Linked DNA regions of Homo sapiens: all the other regions are linked to region 4. The links are contacts of gene promoters, found by promoter capture Hi-C in blood cells and fetal thymus (Javierre and others, 2016). All regions are on one chromosome and are shown on one strand. Each heading gives the region's core, a stretch centred on a gene start or on the middle of the fragment in contact. The rest is flanking DNA. Distances are from core to core; before and after follow the strand shown. Region 1 overlaps NYNRIN (NYN domain and retroviral integrase containing). Region 2 overlaps NEDD8-MDP1 (NEDD8-MDP1 readthrough). Region 3 overlaps LOC101927045 (a long non-coding RNA gene). Region 4 holds the start of ADCY4 (adenylate cyclase 4).

The links. Contacts are between HindIII fragments. The CHiCAGO score rates a contact against its expected background, and 5 or more counts as called.
Region 1: a contact is called between a fragment that was not itself captured here and the fragment with the promoter of ADCY4 in region 4, in 14 of 17 cell types (naive CD4 T cells, naive CD8 T cells, M1 macrophages and 11 more). The highest score is 12.2, in naive CD4 T cells.
Region 2: a fragment that was not itself captured here is called in contact with the fragment with the promoter of ADCY4 in region 4 in 7 of 17 cell types (total CD8 T cells, naive CD8 T cells, naive CD4 T cells and 4 more); the score reaches 11.9 in total CD8 T cells.
Region 3: a contact is called between a fragment that was not itself captured here and the fragment with the promoter of ADCY4 in region 4, in 4 of 17 cell types (naive CD4 T cells, naive CD8 T cells, total B cells and 1 more). The highest score is 6.8, in naive CD4 T cells.

The regions. Positions count from the first base shown.
Region 1 is chr14:24,406,857-24,411,311 of GRCh38, reverse strand. NYNRIN (NYN domain and retroviral integrase containing) reads right to left here. Exons shown (of 9, transcript NM_025081.3): 3 at 2,785-3,443; 4 at 1,104-2,660; 5 at 106-236. Among named protein-coding and RNA genes, the nearest start is that of NYNRIN, 10 kb to the right of the region's middle. The HindIII fragment of the contact is 3,953 bases long and covers 65-4,017 here.
Region 2 is chr14:24,220,208-24,224,708 of GRCh38, reverse strand. All of the region lies in intron 1 of NEDD8-MDP1 (NEDD8-MDP1 readthrough), which reads left to right. All of the region lies in intron 1 of NEDD8 (NEDD8 ubiquitin like modifier), which reads left to right. Among named protein-coding and RNA genes, the nearest start is that of MDP1, 6.4 kb to the right of the region's middle. The HindIII fragment of the contact is 1,322 bases long and covers 2,314-3,635 here.
Region 3 is chr14:24,445,298-24,450,251 of GRCh38, reverse strand. It overlaps LOC101927045 (a long non-coding RNA gene), which reads right to left. Exons shown (of 3, transcript NR_110032.1): 2 at 4,680-4,954. Among named protein-coding and RNA genes, the nearest start is that of SDR39U1, 5.0 kb to the right of the region's middle. The HindIII fragment of the contact is 4,219 bases long and covers 319-4,537 here.
Region 4 is chr14:24,332,054-24,336,817 of GRCh38, reverse strand. ADCY4 (adenylate cyclase 4) reads left to right here and starts at 1,747. Exons shown (of 25, transcript NM_001198568.2): 1 at 1,747-2,324; 2 at 3,830-4,027; 3 at 4,135-4,296. The coding sequence starts at 2,166. It overlaps RIPK3 (receptor interacting serine/threonine kinase 3), which reads left to right. Exons shown (of 10, transcript NM_006871.4): 10 at 423-793. The coding sequence ends at 643. RefSeq lists silencers at 2,041-2,120, 2,191-2,350, 3,011-3,110. The HindIII fragment of the contact is 4,552 bases long and covers 659-4,764 here.

The sequences.
Region 1 (4,455 bases), core at 792-3,291, 74 kb before region 4:
TAAGTGGAAATGGCCACTCTGGGGTGGCAGAGGGTCGGGGCAGCAAGGCAGAGAGAAGAAAGCTTGGTGACACTGTGGAGGCTGGGCAGGCAGGGGACACCTCACCTCTCACCCTCCGGTTCTTCTTCAGCTGCCAGGTGGGTACAAACACAGTGACCTCTCGGTGTCCCCGGTTCCAGAAAAACTGCACTGCCATGGCAATTCCTCGGCAGGAGAAGAAGTGCTGCAGGCCATGCCTGTGGGGTCGTGGGACAAGGAAAGACCCTGCCTCACCACTCCTCCCTCAGAGCCAGCCCTGGGGCAGCAAGCAAGCAATGCCAGCACCAAGGACACCAATGATGCCCTCTCCCCTTCCCTCCATACTCAGACATTCTGTGAGCACCTACTTGGTGCAGGGCACTGCCAGAAACTCTGTGTGTGTGCGCGTGCATGTGTGTGTGTGTGTGCATGTACCTGTGTGTACGCATGTGTGTAGGGACATTGAGGGCAAGAGGAAGAAGGCAGCCCCTCCACTCAGAGAGCTCAGTTGAGGGCTTAAAGCAAACAAAAATTCCCTGGCCACCGACAGTGTGCTGGGAGTGTGCTCTGCACAGATAACTACTCTATCATGTGGCAAATTATGTGGCATGCACATGTTTATGCTAACACCTCTACAGCAGTAAGTACTGTGGAGGAAGGGCAATCGCTAAGGGCCAGCAGAGTCAGGAAAAGAAATCTGTGCTGGGCCTTGAAGTTTGGGCTAAAAGTTTAAAAGCTGGCCTGGGAAGGGCATGGACCTTGGCAGTGGACACATCTGAGCCAAAAGGCCAGCTGGACCCCTTGCTGGCTCAGGGATCTTGGGCAAGATTTCCCACCTCTGAGCCTGCTTCAGCATCTATCAGACAGGGAAACCAGAAACCTGCCCTTGAGGGCTGCTATGAGGATTCCATGCACACTGCCTGGCACGCAGGAGCCATTCAACATGGATGGACCACTTCCCTCCCATCTCTTCCCCATGTCGCCCATAGGAAGGTTGGGAAGGGATGCCCACATTCTGTCCCCCAGGGATGCCCTGCCCCAGGTCCACAGCATCCCCAGCCCACCCCACGCCCGTGACTACTCACACCATGGCCACACTGCTGCCATCGATGACCACTCGCCGCAACCCCTGGTTTCCAGGTTCCCCTGACAGGTTCAGCTCGAAGGGTGTATTCAGGGCCTCGTGGTACCTCTGGAAGCTGGTCACTGTGCTGTTCGCTTGCAGGTGGCGAGGTGGCTGCCTTGGGGCCCCCTCCCAAGCCCCCAGGAGCCCCTCCATCTGAAACTGGTGCTTACTGCTGAGGGCCAAGGTGCCACTGGACTGGGGACCCTGCCTTCCAGCCTGCCCCTGGCCCTTCAGTAAGGAGACACTAGCCCTTGATGTAGGCTGGACCTCACTCAGAAGTCTGGCTACATCCAAGGTTGGCCCTGCATCCGTGGGCACCTTCTGAGCTGCAGGTGTTTTGGGAGCTCTGGAGACTCTGGGGGTCACAGGTACTTTGGGAGCTGCAGGTGCTTTGGAAGCTGCAGGTGCTTTGGAAACTGTAGCTGCAGGCCCGGCTTGAGCTTTGGGTGTTTTGGGACCTGCAGGTGATGTTTTTGCTACAGGCATCTTCTGAGCCTGGGGAGTTTTTGGAGTTGTGGGTTCCACTTGAGCTACCAACACTGGTTGATTCACAACTGTTTTTTGAGCTGTGGCCATCAGTTGAGCTGTTGGCTTTGTTGGAGCCAAAGGCACTTCGGGAGCTGCAGGCTCTGTGTGCACTGCCAGCATCATTCGAGATGTAGGCAGTTTGGGAGCTGCAGATGGCACTTGAGTTCTGGAGGGATTTTCAGCTTTGGGCACTGCTGCAGCCATGGGCACTTTGAGAGTTTCAGGCACTGTTTGAGCTCCAGGTACTGACTGATCTGTCAGCCCCCCTTGAGCCACGGGCTTCCCTTGCCCTGTTGGCAGCACTGGAGCGGGTCCCTCTTCCAGTCCCTTAAAATCTAACTGCATACTCCCTTGATCCCCCGGCTCACCTCCAGCCTGTAGTTGGGGTGTAGAGGTCAAGGGTGGCCCTATCTGTGGGAGATCCGAGCTAACTTTGTCTTTTACATCTGAGCTCCCAGGGACCACCAATAAACTCGTAACTTTTGGGGAAATCTCTGGCCTTGGGCAATTCTGCAGGGCTGCTTCTCCTCCCAGCCCCCCATCTGGTCTACCAGCTGGGCTTTCTGCACTAGGCAGAGGAGCCAGCTCCTTCTGCTTCCACTCCAGATTTAAGGGCAAAGGATTCTGCCCTGGCAGCTTCAACTGAATGGGGCCCAGAGGTCTCTGCCAGAAGGGGAAATTGAAGCACGCCTGGGACAGGAGCCAGGCCAGATGTAGAGAATGCAGCTCATTGATCCTCCAGAAGGTTGCAGCAATAGCCCCCGGCCACAATGGCCCAAAGGCTGGCCCCGGGGTCCAGGCCTTCCAGGGTGGGCACACACCCAGGGCTGATACTGGAGGTTGGAAGAGGAGTTTATCTTCTATCTTCTGGACCTGCCTTTGCTTCAACAAGGCTTGTGTGTGGTTCGTGGAGTCCTGGCTGCTGGTGGCTTGCACTGTCCCTTCCTCTTGAGCACTGTCCATACCATCTTGGTTGTTGGAACCGACCCTGGAGGAAGCCCAAGTTCATTGAAAAGGTGGAAGGCCAGTTTGGTCCCAAACTATTACTATTTCCTTAGGGTAGGGGAGCAGGGGTAGGATCAGAGAAGCCAGGCTCATTCTCCAGAACTTACCGTACCAGCTGGTTTGCTGCCTCCTGCGGTGTGCTCTGGGCTGTGATCAGGGACCCAGTGGCTCCCAGGCTAGATAATCTCTTTGAATTTTCTGGGCCCCTGTTCTGGAGGGTCCCCATGTCCACAAAGGGTCCAGGACTCTCTCCCACGGACACCATGGCTGGGGCTTCCTTCTGCTGCTGGGGAGGGCAGATTAGAACCTCCGGATCGGAGTGGGAGTCAGAGATGCCGAAGCGGCTGAGCCACTCGATGATGTCTTCCTTGCCCGCAGCATCCCGCACCAGGCTCAGCAGCAGCTCCTGGACCGCTGGGGGCAGCTGCAGTAGGTCCCCTGCATGCTGGTCACCACGGATCCAGACCAGGGCCCCAAAGGCCCGGGTCACCTCAGCCTCCCAGATCCCCCGGGGGGTCAGCAGAGGGGCAGGGCCCCAGCGCAGTCGCCCCACCAGCTCCTCCAGCCAGTTCTGTGTCATGATGAAAGACTCAGTCAGCCCGCCCACCATCAGGGAGCCAGGGGGGCCAGGCACCAGGTAGGCAAGGGTGCTCCAGCAGAGGCAGTCCAGGAAGAGGCCTTGGGCCCCAAGGAAGGCACAGTGCAGGATCGGTGGGTAGCGAACCTCTTTCCACAGCTCTGGGCTGCACAGGCCCTTCAGGTATTCCTGGGCACAATGGGGAGAACACAATGAAGTCAGCCCGTTGGGGGCCTGCCCCTGGATCTGCCCTCGCCACCCAAAAGGCCAGCCCCTCACTAACCATGTGGCCCCACCACTACCACCCCCCATCCACCATGAGCCAAATGACTCCCCCATGGCCAGCCACTCTCTCCCTGGTCCTGCACCCTCACACACCCATTTCTTTCCAGGGAACACCAACAGAACAGGGAAGCCTGGGAGAGAGGAGGGAAAGAACCCAGGTTGCAGCTCCAACTCGACCTCAACTGATTAGGTTAATTGTGGGGCATCTATCACCTTCTCAGCACCGCAGTCTCTTCACCAAGAAAAAGAAAGGTTAAACTGGATGCTCCTGAGGTCTAGTCCCAGTCTGGCATTCCTGAATTGTGTGACAGCTGGGGAGAAAGTGGCTGCACACTACTGGGCACCCTCCATAAGCTAGGAACTATGCAACCTGTGGCAAGTTATTAATCACACAACACGCCTGCCCCCGTGCCTGCAGTTCCTCCTCTGTAAAATGGGAACAGTAATAGTTCCTGCCTCATTGGGCCACTCTGAAGCTTCAGTGAATTAATACGCAGAAAGTACTGAGGATGACACCTGGCACAGCCTGTTCCCATTTTGCAGGCTGAGAAGAGCTATGCAGCTTGCCCAAGGGCACACAGCTAGAGGCTCTGATACTAGAAATTTTTCCACCTCCTCTGGCAGACCACAGTGACTACAGGGTAATCATGTGAGACTCGAGCTTCATCCCCCTCCAGAATGCCTCTAGCACAACCTGTACCCCTAATCATAGTAACTCTGTTGCCCAGAGGCAACAGAGCAGGAGATAAGCCACTGGGCCAGTGTCCAGGGGAACCCCTGCACCCGCACATACACACAATAGCTAAAGAGAAGGAAGAACTCTGGCTTTCTGGGCAGACCAAGTCCTAGAGTTCACAGAGCTCACAGGGCACACACTTGCCATCTTTAGCAGTGGCTGGGGTGGGCGAGGTTGGGG
Region 2 (4,501 bases), core at 1,725-4,224, 110 kb after region 4:
ATTTCCTAGATACATTGTTTCATTGGGGGTTACAAGCTGGAGGTACTCTAATATTCTTGTTGCTTCATATATTAGCTGGAATATTTGAACAGTGTCCAAAATGGTAGCCATTAGCCACATTTGGCTATTGAGCACTTGAAATGTAACTAGAGAGACTGAAGATTTGAAATTTTGATTGTACTTGATTTTAATTAAATTTAAAAACTGAAACTTAGCCGGGTACAGTGGCTCACACCTGTAATCCCAGTGAGTTAGGAGGCTGAGGTGGGAAGATCACTTGAGGCCAGAAGTTTGAGACCAGCCTGGACAACATTTCGAGACCCCATCTCTACAAAACAATTTTCAGGCCGGGCATGGTGGCTCATGCCTGTAATCCCAACACTTTGGGAGGCCGAGGCGGGTGGATCATTTGAGGTCAGGAGTTCGAGACCAGCATGGCCAACATGGTGAAACCCCATCTCTACTAAAAATACAAAAATTGGCTGGGCGCGGTGGCTCACGCCTGTAATCCCAGCACTCTGGGAGGCCGAGGCGGGCGGATCACAAGGTCAGGAGATCGAGACCATCCTGGCTAACACAGTGAAAACCCGTCTCTACTAAAAAATACAAAAAATTAGCCTGGGCGTAGTGGCGGGCGCCTGTAGTCCCAGCTACTCTGGAGGCTGAGGCAGGAGAATGGCGTGAACCCGGGAGGTGGAGCTTGCAGTGAGCCGAGATCGTGCTACTGCACTCCAGCCTGGGCGACAGAGCGAGACTCTGTCTCAAAAAAATAAAAATAAAAATAATAAAAAATACAAAATACAAAAATTAGCCAGGCGTAGTGACACGCGGCTGTAACCCCAGCTACTTGGGAGGCTGAGGCAGGAGAATTGCTTGAGCCTGGGAGGCGGAGGTTGTGGTGAGCCAGATGATGCCACAGCACTCCAGTCTGGGTGACAGACTGAGACCTTGCCTCAAAAAAAAAAAAAATTTTTTTTTTTTTCCAAAAAAGAATTAGCCAGGCATGGTGGTGTGTGCTTGTAGTCCCAGCTATTCAGAATGCTGAGGTGGGATGATACTTTCAGCCCAGGAGTTGGAGGCTGCAGTGAGCCATGATTACTCCACTGTGTTCCAGGCTGGGACACAGAGCAAGACTCCATCTCAAATAAATAAATAAATAAATAAATATAAAAAACTTTTAAGTATGTTTAGAACAAGTTGGGTGTATAAATCTACTTTTTCTATTGTAAATTATGAAACTTAAATATATGTCAAGTATTTCAGATGAAAATTTACCATTTGAATTTTTTTGTTTTTCTGGGTTTTTTTTGGAGATAGGGTCTCCCTCTGTCACCCAAGCTGGAGTGCAGTGGCACAATCAGCCCACTACGGCATTGAACTCCTGGGCTTGGGCAGTCTTGCCTCAGCCTTCTGAGTACCCAGTTGCTGGGACTACAGGCCTGTGCCACTATGCCTGGCTAATTTTATTGTAGAGATGGGGATCTCACTATGTTGCCCAGGCTGGTCTCAAAACTCCAAGCCTCAAGCAGTACTCCCACATCCCCTTCCCAAAGTGTTGAGATTACAGGCATATGCTACCATGCCCAGCCTACCATCTCTATTTTTTTTTTTTTTTTTTTTTTTGAAATGCAGTCTTGCTCTGTTGCCCAGGCTGGAGTGCAGTGGCATGATCTCAGCTCACCGTAACCTCCGCCTCCTGGGTTCAGGCGATTCTCCTGCCTCAGCCTCCCCAGTAGCTGGGACTACAGGCGCCCACCACCATGCCCAACTAATCTTTGTATTTTTAGTAGAGATGGGGTTTCACTGTGTTGGCCAGGCTGGTCTCAAACTCCTGACCTCGTGATCCGCCCCCTCGGCCTCCTAAAGTGCTAGGATTACAGGTGTGAGCCACCGCACCCAGCCCCATCTCTACATGTGATGTAAATATGAAATACAGGATTTTTAGGATTTGGTTAGAAAAAACATAAAATATATTAATTTTTATATTGATTACATGTGAATAATATTTTGGCTATGTTGGGTTTAAAAATATTAAAATTTTACCTCTTAAAGAACTTTTACAATATGGCTACTAGTAAATTTAAAAATTGCATGTATGGCTTGTATTATATTTCTACAAGGCAGTGCTGCTTTACAAAATCTTACCCTTATCAAGGACATTGTTTTTTAAATAATTTGTTCTCATTACAGCATATTCACATTTGTGGTATAAAAAATGGAAAATACAGAAAAGCATAATAATGTAATTAAAATCACCCATAATTCCACTGCTCAAGTTAAAGCATTAATATACTGTATATACCCTTCCAAGCTTTTTGGAGAGCATATAGATGCATGTGTTGTTTTTACAAAATTTTAATTATACTCTATATACTATAACTTTTTTGTTAAATTATCAGCATATTGTTAATATATTACAAATAGTTATCCTAAACATTGTTTGAGGGATTTGTAATTTTTTTTCTATGATTGTACCATAATTTATTTAACCCTCAACTGTTTGATATTTAGATTGTGTTTCTAATTTTACAGTATCAAAAGGTTGCAATAACCATTGTTGTAGGTATACTTTTGGACATAGTCATGAGTATTTTCCTGGAAGTATTGTTGCTGGGACACCATATTGCCAAATTGCTCTCTAGATATATTTATGGGCCTCTACAGTCGATTTCAGAAACAAAGGGCCAGCTCTAGACTTTTAGAATTTACAAACCAATAATCCTTTTTAAAAATATAAGGTCCAAGCATTTTGCTCTTGGGAGAGCAGCTCTAGGTCTTCTCTGAGAGTCTTTTTTCACTCTTTAAAAATTTGTGGTCGGGTGCGGTGGCCCACATCTATAATCCCAGCACTTTGGGAGGCCGAGGCAGGCAGATCACCTGAGGTCGGGAGTTCAAGACCAGCCTGACCAATATGGAGAAACCCTTCTCTACTAAAAATACAAAATTAGCCAGGTGTGGTGGTGCATGCCTGTAGTCCCAGCTACTTGGGAGGCTGAGATAGGAGAATTGCTTGAACCTGGGAGGCAGAGGTTGCAGGGTGAGCTGAGATTGTGCCGTTGCACTCCAGCCTGGGCAGCAAGAGTAAAACTCCATCTCAAAATAAATAAATAAATAAAAATTTGTATTATCGGCCAGGCACGGTGGCTCATGCCTATAATCCCAGCACTATGGGAGGCTGAGGCAGGTGGATCACTTGAGGTCAGGAGTTCGAGACCAGCCTGGGCAACATGGCAAAACCCCATCTCTACTAAAAATACAAAATGTAGTCAGGCGTGGTGGTGCCCGCCTGTGATGCCAGCTACTCAAGAGGCTGAGGTGGGGATCACCTGAGCCCAGTATGTCGAGGCTGCGGTGAGCCATGATTGCACCATTGCACTCCATCCGGGTGAGACTGAGACCCCGTCTCAAAAAAAAAAAAAAAGAAAGTGAAATAATTTGTGGACAACACAGAATTACAAACTTTTTATTTTGTCTTTTTAAAGTTACCACAAATTGTCACCACCATTCTCTGAAAGGACATTAACACCTGAATATATTTAGTTTCATGAAAATTTCACTTTTAACACTGCTTTTCTCATTTTACCATAGGCTGCTGAAAATTTTCACACAGACCAGCATAGGTTAGGGTAGAAGCTTGAGAATCACTGCTGTAATTTATTCTTTCATATCCAAACAGGTTAATCCAAAGGAATTGTTCTTGTATTTTTGGAAACATACTAGTACTAAATCATTCTCCTTGTTGGGAAATTTTCTGAGTTCTTGTTTCGTGCTGTTCTATGTGAATACCATAAGGAGAAACCATATGTTATTTTGTGAGCTACTATAGGAGTGTACATTGGGTCCCAATACTAGACCAGCCAGACTCAGGTAGGACGGAGTACAGAAATAAAAGCACAGGCTCTGGGACCAGGGAATCTGGATCCAATCTCTACTTTTGATTGCGTAGATGTGTTTTTAACCTAAGGCTTATTTTTCTCATCTATAAAATGGAAATAGTAATAGTCCATATCTCATAAATACTGGGAGGATTAAATGTGATGCATGTAAGATGCTGATCATAGTTACTGACCCTTAGAAAGTGTTCAATGGCTGGGCAAGGTGGCTCATGCCTGTAATCCCAGCTCTTTGGGAGGCCGAGGCAGGAGGATCACTTGAGCCCATGAGTTTGAAACCAGCCTGAGCAACACAGAACTCGTCTCTACAAAAAAATCTTAAAAATAGCTGAGTGTGGTGGTGCACACACCCTGTAGTCCTTGCTACTTAGGAGGCTGAGGTGGGAGGGTTGTTTGAACCCAGGAGGTCAAGGCTGCAGTGAGCCAGGATCACACCACTGAACTCCAGCCTGCTTGATACAGTGAGACCCTGTCTCTTAAAAAAATAAAAGGAAAAAAATAGTTTTCAGTAAATGTTAGCTGTGATTATAATATGATCATCAGTATATTTAGCCCTTCAAAAATATTCATTGACTGCTTGTGTGTCAAACACTAGGAAAGTTTAACAC
Region 3 (4,954 bases), core at 1,179-3,678, 110 kb before region 4:
TCCCTGAATAGACCAATAACAGGCTCTGAAATTGAGGCAATAATTAATAGCCTACCAACCAAAAAAAGTCCGGGACCAGACGGATTCAAAGCCAAATTCTACCAGAGGTACAAAGAGGAGCTGGTACCATTCCTTCTGAAACTATTCCAATCAATAGAAAAAGACAGAATCCTCTCTAACTCATTTTATGAGGCCAGAATCATCCTGATACCAAAGCCGGGCAGAGACAACAACAAAATAGAATTTTAGACCAATATCCCTGATGAACATCAATGCAAAAATCCTCAATAAAATACTGGCAAACCACATCAAAAAGCTTATCCACCACGATCAAGTTGGCTTCATCCCTGGGATGCAAGTCTGGTTCAACATACACAAATCAATAAACGTAATCCATCATATAAACAGAACCAAAGACAAAAACCACATGATTATCTCAATAGATGCAGATAAGGCCTTAGACAAAATTCAGCAGCCCTACATGCCAAAAAACTTTCAATAAACTAGGTATTGATGGGATGTATCTCAAAATAATAAGAGCTATTTATGACAAACCCACAGCCAATATCAAACTGAATGGGCAAAAACTGGAAGCATTCCCTTTGAAAACTGGTACAAGACAGGGATGCCCTCTCTCACCACTCCTATTCAACATAGTGTTGGAAGTTCTGGCCAGGGTAATCAGGCAGGAGAAATAAATAAAGAGATATTCAATTAGGAAAAGAGGAAGTCAAATTGTCCCTGTTTGCAGATGACATGATTGTATATTTAGAAAACCCCACCGTCTCAGCCCAAAATCTCCTTAAGCTGATAAGCAACTTCAACAGTCTCAGGATACAAAATCAATGTGCAAAAATCACAAGCATTCCTAAACACCAATAACAGACAAAGAGAGAGCCAAATCATGAGTGAACTCCCATTCACAATTGCTTCAAAGAGAATAAAATACCTAGGAATACAACTCACAAGGGATGTGAAGGACCTCTTCAAGGAGAACTACAAACCACTGCTCAATGACATAAAAGGGGACACAAACAAATGGAAGAACATTCCATGCTCATGGATAGGAAGAATGAATATCATCGAAATGGCCATACTGCCCAAGGTAATTTACAGATTTAATGCCATCCCCATCGAGCTGCCAATGACTTTCTTCACAGAATTGGAAAAAACTACTTTAAGGCTCATATGGAACCAAAAAAGAGGCCGCATTGCCAAGACAATCCTAAGCCAAAAGAACAAAGCTGGAGGCATCATGCTACCTGACTTCAAACTATACTACAAGGCTACAGTAACCAAAACAGCAGCGTACTGGTACCAAAACAGAGAGATAGACCAATGGAACAGAACAGAGCCCTCAGAAATAATACCACACATCTACCACCATCTGATCTTTGACAAACCTCACAAAAACAAGAAACAGGGAAAGGATTCCCTATTTAATAAATGGTGCTGGGAAAACTGGCTAGCCATATGTAGAAAGCTGAAACTGGATCCCTTCCTTACACCTTATATAAAAATTAATTCAAGATGGATTAAAGACTTAAATGTTAGACCTAAAACCATAAAAACCCTAGAAGAAAACCTAGGCAATACCATTCAGGACATAGGCATGGGCAAGGACTTCATGTCTAAAACACCAAAAGCAATGGCAAAAAAAGCCAAAATAGACAAATGGGATCTAATTAAACTAAACAGCTTCTGCACAGCAAAAGAAACTACTATGAGAGGGAACAGGCAACCTACAGAATGGGAGAAAATTTTTTGCAATCCACCCATCTGACAAAGGGCTGATATCCAGAATCTACAATGAACTCAAACAAATTCACAAGAAAAAATCAAACAACCCCATCAAAAAGTGGGTGAAGGATATGAACAGACACTTCTCAAAAGAAGACATTTATGCAGCCAACAGACACATGAAAAAATGCTCATTATCACTGGCCATCAGAGAAATGCAAATCAAAACCACAATGAGATACCATCTCACACCGGTTAGAATGGCAATCATTAAAAAGTCAGGAAACAACAGGTGCTGGAGAGGATGTGGAGAAATAGGAACACTTTTACACTGTTGGTGGGAGTGGAAACTAGTGTGGAAGGGAGTGTGGTGATTCCTCAAGGATCTAGAACTAGAAATACCATTTGACCCAGCAATCCCATTACTGGGTATATACCCAAAGGATTATAAATCATGCTACTATAAAGACACGTGCACATGTATGTTTACTGTGGCACTATTCACAATAGCAGAAACTTGGAACCAACCCAAATGTCAATCAATGATAGACTGGATTAAGAAAATGTGGCACATATACACCATGGAATACTATGCATCCATTAAAAAGGATGATCCATTGTAGGGACATGGATGAAGCTGGAAACCATCATTCTGAGCAAATTCTCGCAAGGACAAAAAACCAAACACTGCATGTTCTCACTCATAGGTGGGAACTGAACAATAAGAATGCTTGGACACAGGGTGGGGAACATCACACACCGGGGCCTATTGTGGGGTGGGTGTGGGGGGAGGGATAGCATTAGGAGGAATACCTAATGTAAATGATGAGTTAATGGATGCAGCACACCAACATGGCACATGTATACATATGTAACAAACCTGCACATTGTGCACATGTACCCTAGAACTTAAAGTACAATAAAAAATTTTTTGAATTAAAAAAATTTTAATTTTTCAAAGTTCAGGTTGGTTCTTTTATCAATTCTGCTGGTATTTTTTGATAGCATCTTGTCTCTTTCTCATGTTTTTAATTTCTTCTCTTTCTTAAACGTTTTAAACTTTGGTAATTTTATATTCTATACCTCTAAATTCTAACACTTTAAATCTTTGTCTAAATCTGCTGTTTTCTGTTTCGGTTTGGTTTGATTTTATTTGACACCCTCAGAGTGCTTTGTTTCCTTGTGTGTTTTGTAATTTTGTATTGTATGTTTATGCTTGGCAGGATTTTATCTATTGAAATCCTGTGAAACCAAACCAAGGGAAGATTTATGTCTTCTATCTGGAACACTTAATTTAAATTCTTGGGTTAGAGCTTTCTAGGCCAAGTAGGTAACAATTAATTCAAACCACAAATATGCAGGCGGACAGGACAATAGATACAACTTCTCAAAGAACGGTAATTTTTTTGACAACCAATCCTAGACAAGAGCAAAGCCTAGAGAAACAAGTTTCCAGGCCATGTTCTTTGATACCAGGTGGACTTTTAAAGTTTACTTTTTATCTGAGAACACAGCCCAAGGGCTTTATCCAGGGGTCTCAGTCCCAAATTTGCTTCGATCTCAGGCATGGTCTCCTGTCACCCAAGCCTCTGGGTTACTGAAACTAAAAGTCACAAAATACCTGTTAAAGAAAATTATTCAGTGACACTTGATAGAGTAAGGTAAGGAAGACTTTCCATCACAATAGGTACAGGTACCACTACAATGTGGTCTTGCAGTGGGAGAGATTGGGGTCAAGTATGAAACAACATGGGCAAGTGGGAATTTATAGCCAACGAATACGGTGGGGGTCAGTGGATGAAAAATTAGTAAGAGAAAAATATCAAGGGTAAGAGGGATTCTGGCTAACCCAAACTAACGGGATTCATGTGAAGATAGGCCAAGGTGATCAGACATCACCTAGGGGATGAAGGATGAGGGGCCTGATCAGAGATTGAGAGTGATCAGATATCAAGGGTTGAGGGGGTTCTTGCTAAACTGACTTAGCAAGGCTCTTTGCGAAAACTGGATTTTACAAAGAGGTGTACAAATGAGCCTAGAAGGTTCAGAAGCCTGACTAAAGTTTGGCCAAGCAAATAATCTTTGTCATAACCTCAGTCCCAAGACACATTTCATTTTTTGGCTTCTGGGATTTTTTTATTTTTCTAGCTAACTTGGCAATACATTTAAATGGAGGTATGTTTAATTTTATCCAGCATATCCAGGAATTTTAAACTGGGAGTTTTTTAAACTATACGTGCCACTATAATGTTCCCCTCATATGGTTTTCAAAGATCACTCAGCTTGCAATGTGTGAAATAGTTTGGAGAGGAGAAACATGCAAAAGCAGGAAGACCTACTAGGAGACTACTGCAGATATTTACACAAGACAGAATAACTCATAAGACGATTGTGATGGCAGAGACAGAGGGAAATATGAGGAAATTTCAAAATGTTGTGGAAAAATCAATTAAAAGATTAAAAAATATAAAATATAAACTTTATTTCTCAACATAAGTTCCACCAACTTCAAGACACTTTCGTAAGAAATGACACCAGCCATTTAGTACACCCTAAAGAACTGAGGGTCCTGGAGACTTAACCACATCAATACAGTCCTTTTTACATTATTAACTGAAGAAAACTGGGTGCCCTTGACAGAATTTCTTAAGATTAAGAAACAAAAAGAAGTCAGAAGGAGCCAAATCAGGTGGATGCCTAAAGATTTCCCATTGAAACTCTAACAAAATTGTTCTTGTATGATGAGAGACATGAGCAAAAGCATTGTCACGGTGGAGAAGAACTGTCTAGTGAAGCTTTCTCAGGTGTTTTTCTGCTAAAGCTTTGGCTAACTTTCCCAAAACACTCTCAATAGGCAAATTAATGTTATCATTCTTTGGTCCTCCACAAAGTCAACAAGGAAAATACCTTGAGTAGCCTAAAAAAACTGTTGCCATTACCTTTGCTCTTGACTGGTCTGCTTTGCTTTGACTTCCTCCGCTTGATAGACATTGCTTTGATTGTGCTTTTTCTTCAGGATCATACTGGTGAAGCCATATTTCATCTCCTGTTACAATTCTTTGATGAAATGCTTCAGGATTGTATTAGTCTGTTTTCACACTTCTATAAAGAACTGCTGGGGACTGGGTAATTTATAAAGAAAACAGGTTTAATTGAGTCACAATTCCGCATGTCCCAGGAGGCCTCAGGAAACTTATAATCATGGTGGAAGGCA
Region 4 (4,764 bases), core at 498-2,997:
ATCTAGATTCAGGGTACTTTGTGGAGGGGAGGGGAGAAGATGATCTAACTCAACCTTCTCATTTCATAAATGGGAAAACCGACACCCCCTGAGAAAGGAGCCCTCTGAGGTCACACAACAAAGCTTGGATTTGTCCCTGAATCTTCTAACTTTCCACAACACCAGCTCTGTGAGCCCCCTAAGTTCCATTGTTTCAGCAGTCCAGAGGACCTCCCAGCAAAAAAGATCAGGGTCTCAAATGTCAATTGCCACTCTCTAGAGCTTCTGCTAACACAATTCTGGAGAGGAGCTCTGAGGGGAGGAGCACAGGGCACACCTTGACACAGCCACTGACAAGTAGAGACTTCATACTCCCCACCCACCCCCAACTTGGCCTTTCTGACAGCTAAACCCTCCTGCCACCATCACTATTTCTCTTAAAGGGCGACCGCTCGTTAACATATACAACTGCTCTGGGGTGCAAGTTGGAGACAACAACTACTTGACTATGCAACAGACAACTGCCTTGCCCACATGGGGCTTGGCACCTTCGGGCAAGGGGAGGGGCTTGCAGCACCCCCCACCAGTAGGTTCGCAAGAAGGCCCTAAAGATCCTGAAGCCTGGAGCAGGCCACAGGGTTGGTATAATCATAGCGGGAAATAAAGCACCTTCCAAGCTTGCCTCCAAGAGTTACGAGTTAAGGAAGAGTGCCACCCCTTGAGGCCCCTGACTTCCTTCTAGGGCAGTCTGGCCTGCCCACAAACTGACTTTGTGACCTGTCCCCCAGGAGTCAATAAACATGATGGAATGCTAGTCAGTCTGAGCTCAGCCAGGGGCAGGGAGGGACTGGGATGGGGGTGGGAGCTGCCAGTGAGGGATAGGGAGGCACCACAGCTCTGCTATGGCAGGAAGTGGGGATGCTGGGGGCTGGGAGTGGGCAATGGCCTGGCACACAAGGTCAGGGCACAGCCGGCTACAACAGGAAGGAATCCTAGAGGCCTGGTTCCCCAGACCACTCTCTAATCTCAGGGCAGTGCTTCCTCTAAAGCCTAGGATGGCGACCCCACCCTAACCCTAAACTCTGGGGATAGAGGCTGTGGTCCCTTTTCTTCCGGGCTCTCAAGACTCACTTGCAGGGCTCTGGCGAGGGATGAGTTGATGTGAAAGATCACAGACCTGGCCCCGCACGGTGCCCCCAGGCTCTTAGAGATCATGACGCCACATACCTGCCTCCACCACACACTCAGGTTGCTTCCTGGACATTGCTTCCCTTTTGATTCCCAGTTGCTGTTCGGGAGTGGAAAGCTATGGCTCCTAAAGCTATACACAGGCGCAACCCCTCCCACGGAGCATGAACAGTTCAAACCCGGTGGTAGTGGTTGCCAGCCAAGCGGAGAGGTCAAGAGAATGAGCGCCCCCAACTCTGACCTAGATCCCCACCAGGACCCACATTCTTCCCTACATTCTCGCCAGGCTTCAGCCCCCCGCCCTCGGTCTCCCCACTACCAAACGTTCACCTCCATTTGGACACATCCCATTGGGTCCACCCCAGCCCACCCCTTCGCATCTCTCCCAGGGTCCACATTGCCCTTCCCTGAAGGGGCTGAAGCGGGGAGGCGATGGTGTTAGGAGAGACAAAACCAAGTGCGGGAGGAGACCAGGGGAGTCCGGCTTTGGCACAGGAAGGGGCCGGGCTGTCCCGTCGGGGAAGTGGGAGGGGGCCGCGGCGCCGGGAGGGAAGCGCCTGTCGCCCGGGACTCTGAGCCAGAGCGCAGCGGCGAGCGTGACTCCGCCATCAGGTCCCCGGCTCCCTCCCCGGACCTAGCCCACTCCGCTGCGCCAGCGCCGCGGGCAGTGAGTTCGGGGATCAGGGGAACCCGGGGCTCCCTCGCACCAACCCCAAATCCTGCCCTCCTGGCGATGAGGCTTTTCTAGGGCACCTCTACAATCCGGGTTTGAGGGAGGAGGAGGAAAGGACTGAGGGATCCCCTCATCGCCAGCTGGGAGCGGGCTGGGAGGCCGCAGGGAGGGCCTGAAAAAGGAGACGGGATTGCCACGAGGTTGGGGGCGCGGGGTGGTAGCGGCTTTGAGCGGGTGAGAAAAGCTCAGGTGGGGCCCGCCGGGCCGAAGGAGGTAACCCGGCGCCCGGCCCTAGCCAGCCCCGGGGCTCGGGGCTGGGGAGATCATGGCCCGCCTCTTCAGCCCCCGGCCGCCCCCCAGCGAAGACCTCTTCTACGAGACCTACTACAGCCTGAGCCAGCAGTACCCGCTGCTGCTGCTGCTGCTGGGGATCGTGCTCTGTGCGCTCGCGGCGCTGCTCGCAGTGGCCTGGGCCAGCGGCAGGGTGAGCCGAGCCTCTGCTGCGGGAGGGTCTCTACCTGGGGAGCATTTTCGGGGTTGGGGTTTGTGGGGTCTTCTTTTCGATGTGTTTTCGTTGCTGGGAGCAGAGAAAGAAAGGACCATTGAGCCTGGCTAGGAACTGCAGTGACCCTGGGCAAGTCACTCTACCCTTCTGGGTCTGCTCAGGGAGAAAGCTGAGTCCTGGATGCTTCTCGTTTCTGTCCGGGTTCTGACAGACTTTATGAACATCCGTGGTCTACGGGTTCTACAATAAATCCATCACCGGATTTTCCAGTTTTCCAAAGGGGAAATTCTAGGAGGCCCCTGGGGAATTCATTTCCTGCCTTTCTCTCCCTCTTAGGGGATGTAGAGCAGTTGTACCCACAGACTCCCAGAAGGCACCCTCCACCGGGCTCTCACTGAGTCCCAAAGTAAACCCATGTCCAGTTTCTGTTTGGGGAGGAAGAAGGTCTTCAATCCAATTCTAGAAATGGCCTGCCCCTGGTTTTCTTTTCACTGCTTGGAGGCAAGGTGGGAAAATCACCGGGCGCGGCCAATCCTTGCTGGTCCACGCCTAAATCCGGGAAGAGGTGGGGACAAAATGCTGGGACGGCTGTGCAGCTTCTGCTTGGAGTTGAGGCAGGTGGCGAGATCGCAGCCCTGGTGGCCAGGGAGGTGCGGGACGCCGCGGGTCCTGGCGCCCCCTGCTGCTCGAGCGCTGCCTCGCGCCGCCCTTCAAGCTGCCGGCCGCGGTCCCCGGCTCCGGGAATCTCCCGAGCAAATTGGCCAGATTTGGAGACATTCATTCCGAAGTGCCTCCTTGTGAGCTTGGATCTATCTTTCACTTGCTTCATGACGCTTTGGTTCCCGTTTGACAGATAAGAAAACTGAGGCTCAGAAACAAATAGGGGATGGGAGCCAGATCTTCTGGGTAGCTGTCCCAGCAAGATAATAGGTTGGACAACAGGAGGCTGGGCGCTGTGGCTCACGCCTGTAATCCCAGCACTTTGGGAGGCCAAGGCGGGAGATCGTTTGAGCCCAGGAGCTCGAGACCAGCCTGGGCAACTTGGCGAGACCCTGTCTTCTACTAAAAATACAAAAAAAAAAAAATTAGCTGGGCGTGGTGGCGGGAGCCTGTAATCCCAGCTACTCGGGAGGCTGAGGCATGAGAATCACTTGAACCCGGGAGGCAGAGGTTGCAGTAAGCCGAGATCGCGCCACTGAACTCCAGCCTGGGCGACAGAGCAAGACTCTGTCTCAAAAAACAAACCAACCAACCAACAAAAACCATACGAGACTGCTGAGTCTAGATAAAAGCAGTAGGACACAAGCAATTTCAAATGGTTCAACCTAAAGTGAATGGCAAGCGGAGGTGCCTTGCCTCCTTTTCGTACTTAGGCTTGAGACACCTTTCAGAACTGGGCTGAGGGGCTGGGCTGCTGGCTTTTCCTTTATCAGGTTCGTTCCTTCTCCCTGTCACAATCTTGCCTCACACACCCCTGCCCACAGGAGCTGACCTCAGACCCGAGCTTCCTGACCACTGTGCTGTGCGCGCTGGGCGGCTTCTCGCTGCTGCTGGGCCTCGCTTCCCGGGAGCAGCGACTGCAGCGCTGGACGCGTCCCCTGTCCGGCTTGGTATGGGTCGCGCTGCTAGCGCTAGGCCACGCCTTCCTGTTCACCGGGGGCGTGGTGAGCGCCTGGGACCAGGTGAGAGGGGCGGCAGGCGGGGCAGCGGGGACGGCCCGGGCTTCGATCCCTCACCAGGCCTTGAATAGCCCCACTTGGGCCTTCGGCTTCCCGCGCCCCGCCCCCAGGTGTCCTATTTTCTCTTCGTCATCTTCACGGCGTATGCCATGCTGCCCTTGGGCATGCGGGACGCCGCCGTCGCGGGCCTCGCCTCCTCACTCTCGCATCTGCTGGTCCTCGGGCTGTATCTTGGGCCACAGCCGGACTCACGGCCTGCACTGCTGCCGCAGGTGAGCACGCAAGTAGCACAGGCTGCGCTCAGGACGGCTCTGCCACGTGCTAGTAGGCTCCTTTTAGGGGGTTGTTGAGCTGTGACTCCAAGTCAAGGTGCAACGCTGGGCGCAGGATACCCAACCGTGCTTTCGCAGAGCTGGTACAACAGTGTGATGCAATGCCTGCTGTTACCAGAAGAGGGATCCAGGCCACACGGAAGGGAGTCGTGTCGTGGTTTACCCCGGGGACAACAGATGTGGTTAATGAAACCTTGACAGAGAATGAAAAAAAAAAAAAAAAAGTTTTGTGCGATGGGAGTGGGTAGCGACAGTGGAGTGGTATTCCAAGCACAAGAAACCTACCTGCAAACGTTTCCAGACCTAAGAGGTCGTGTTGGTGAAGCAGCCGAGAGTCTGGAGGAGGGAGCATCTGGGAAGGGAAACGTCCCTAGGGATGCCACAGTGTGGCACCACTTGTCCCACAAT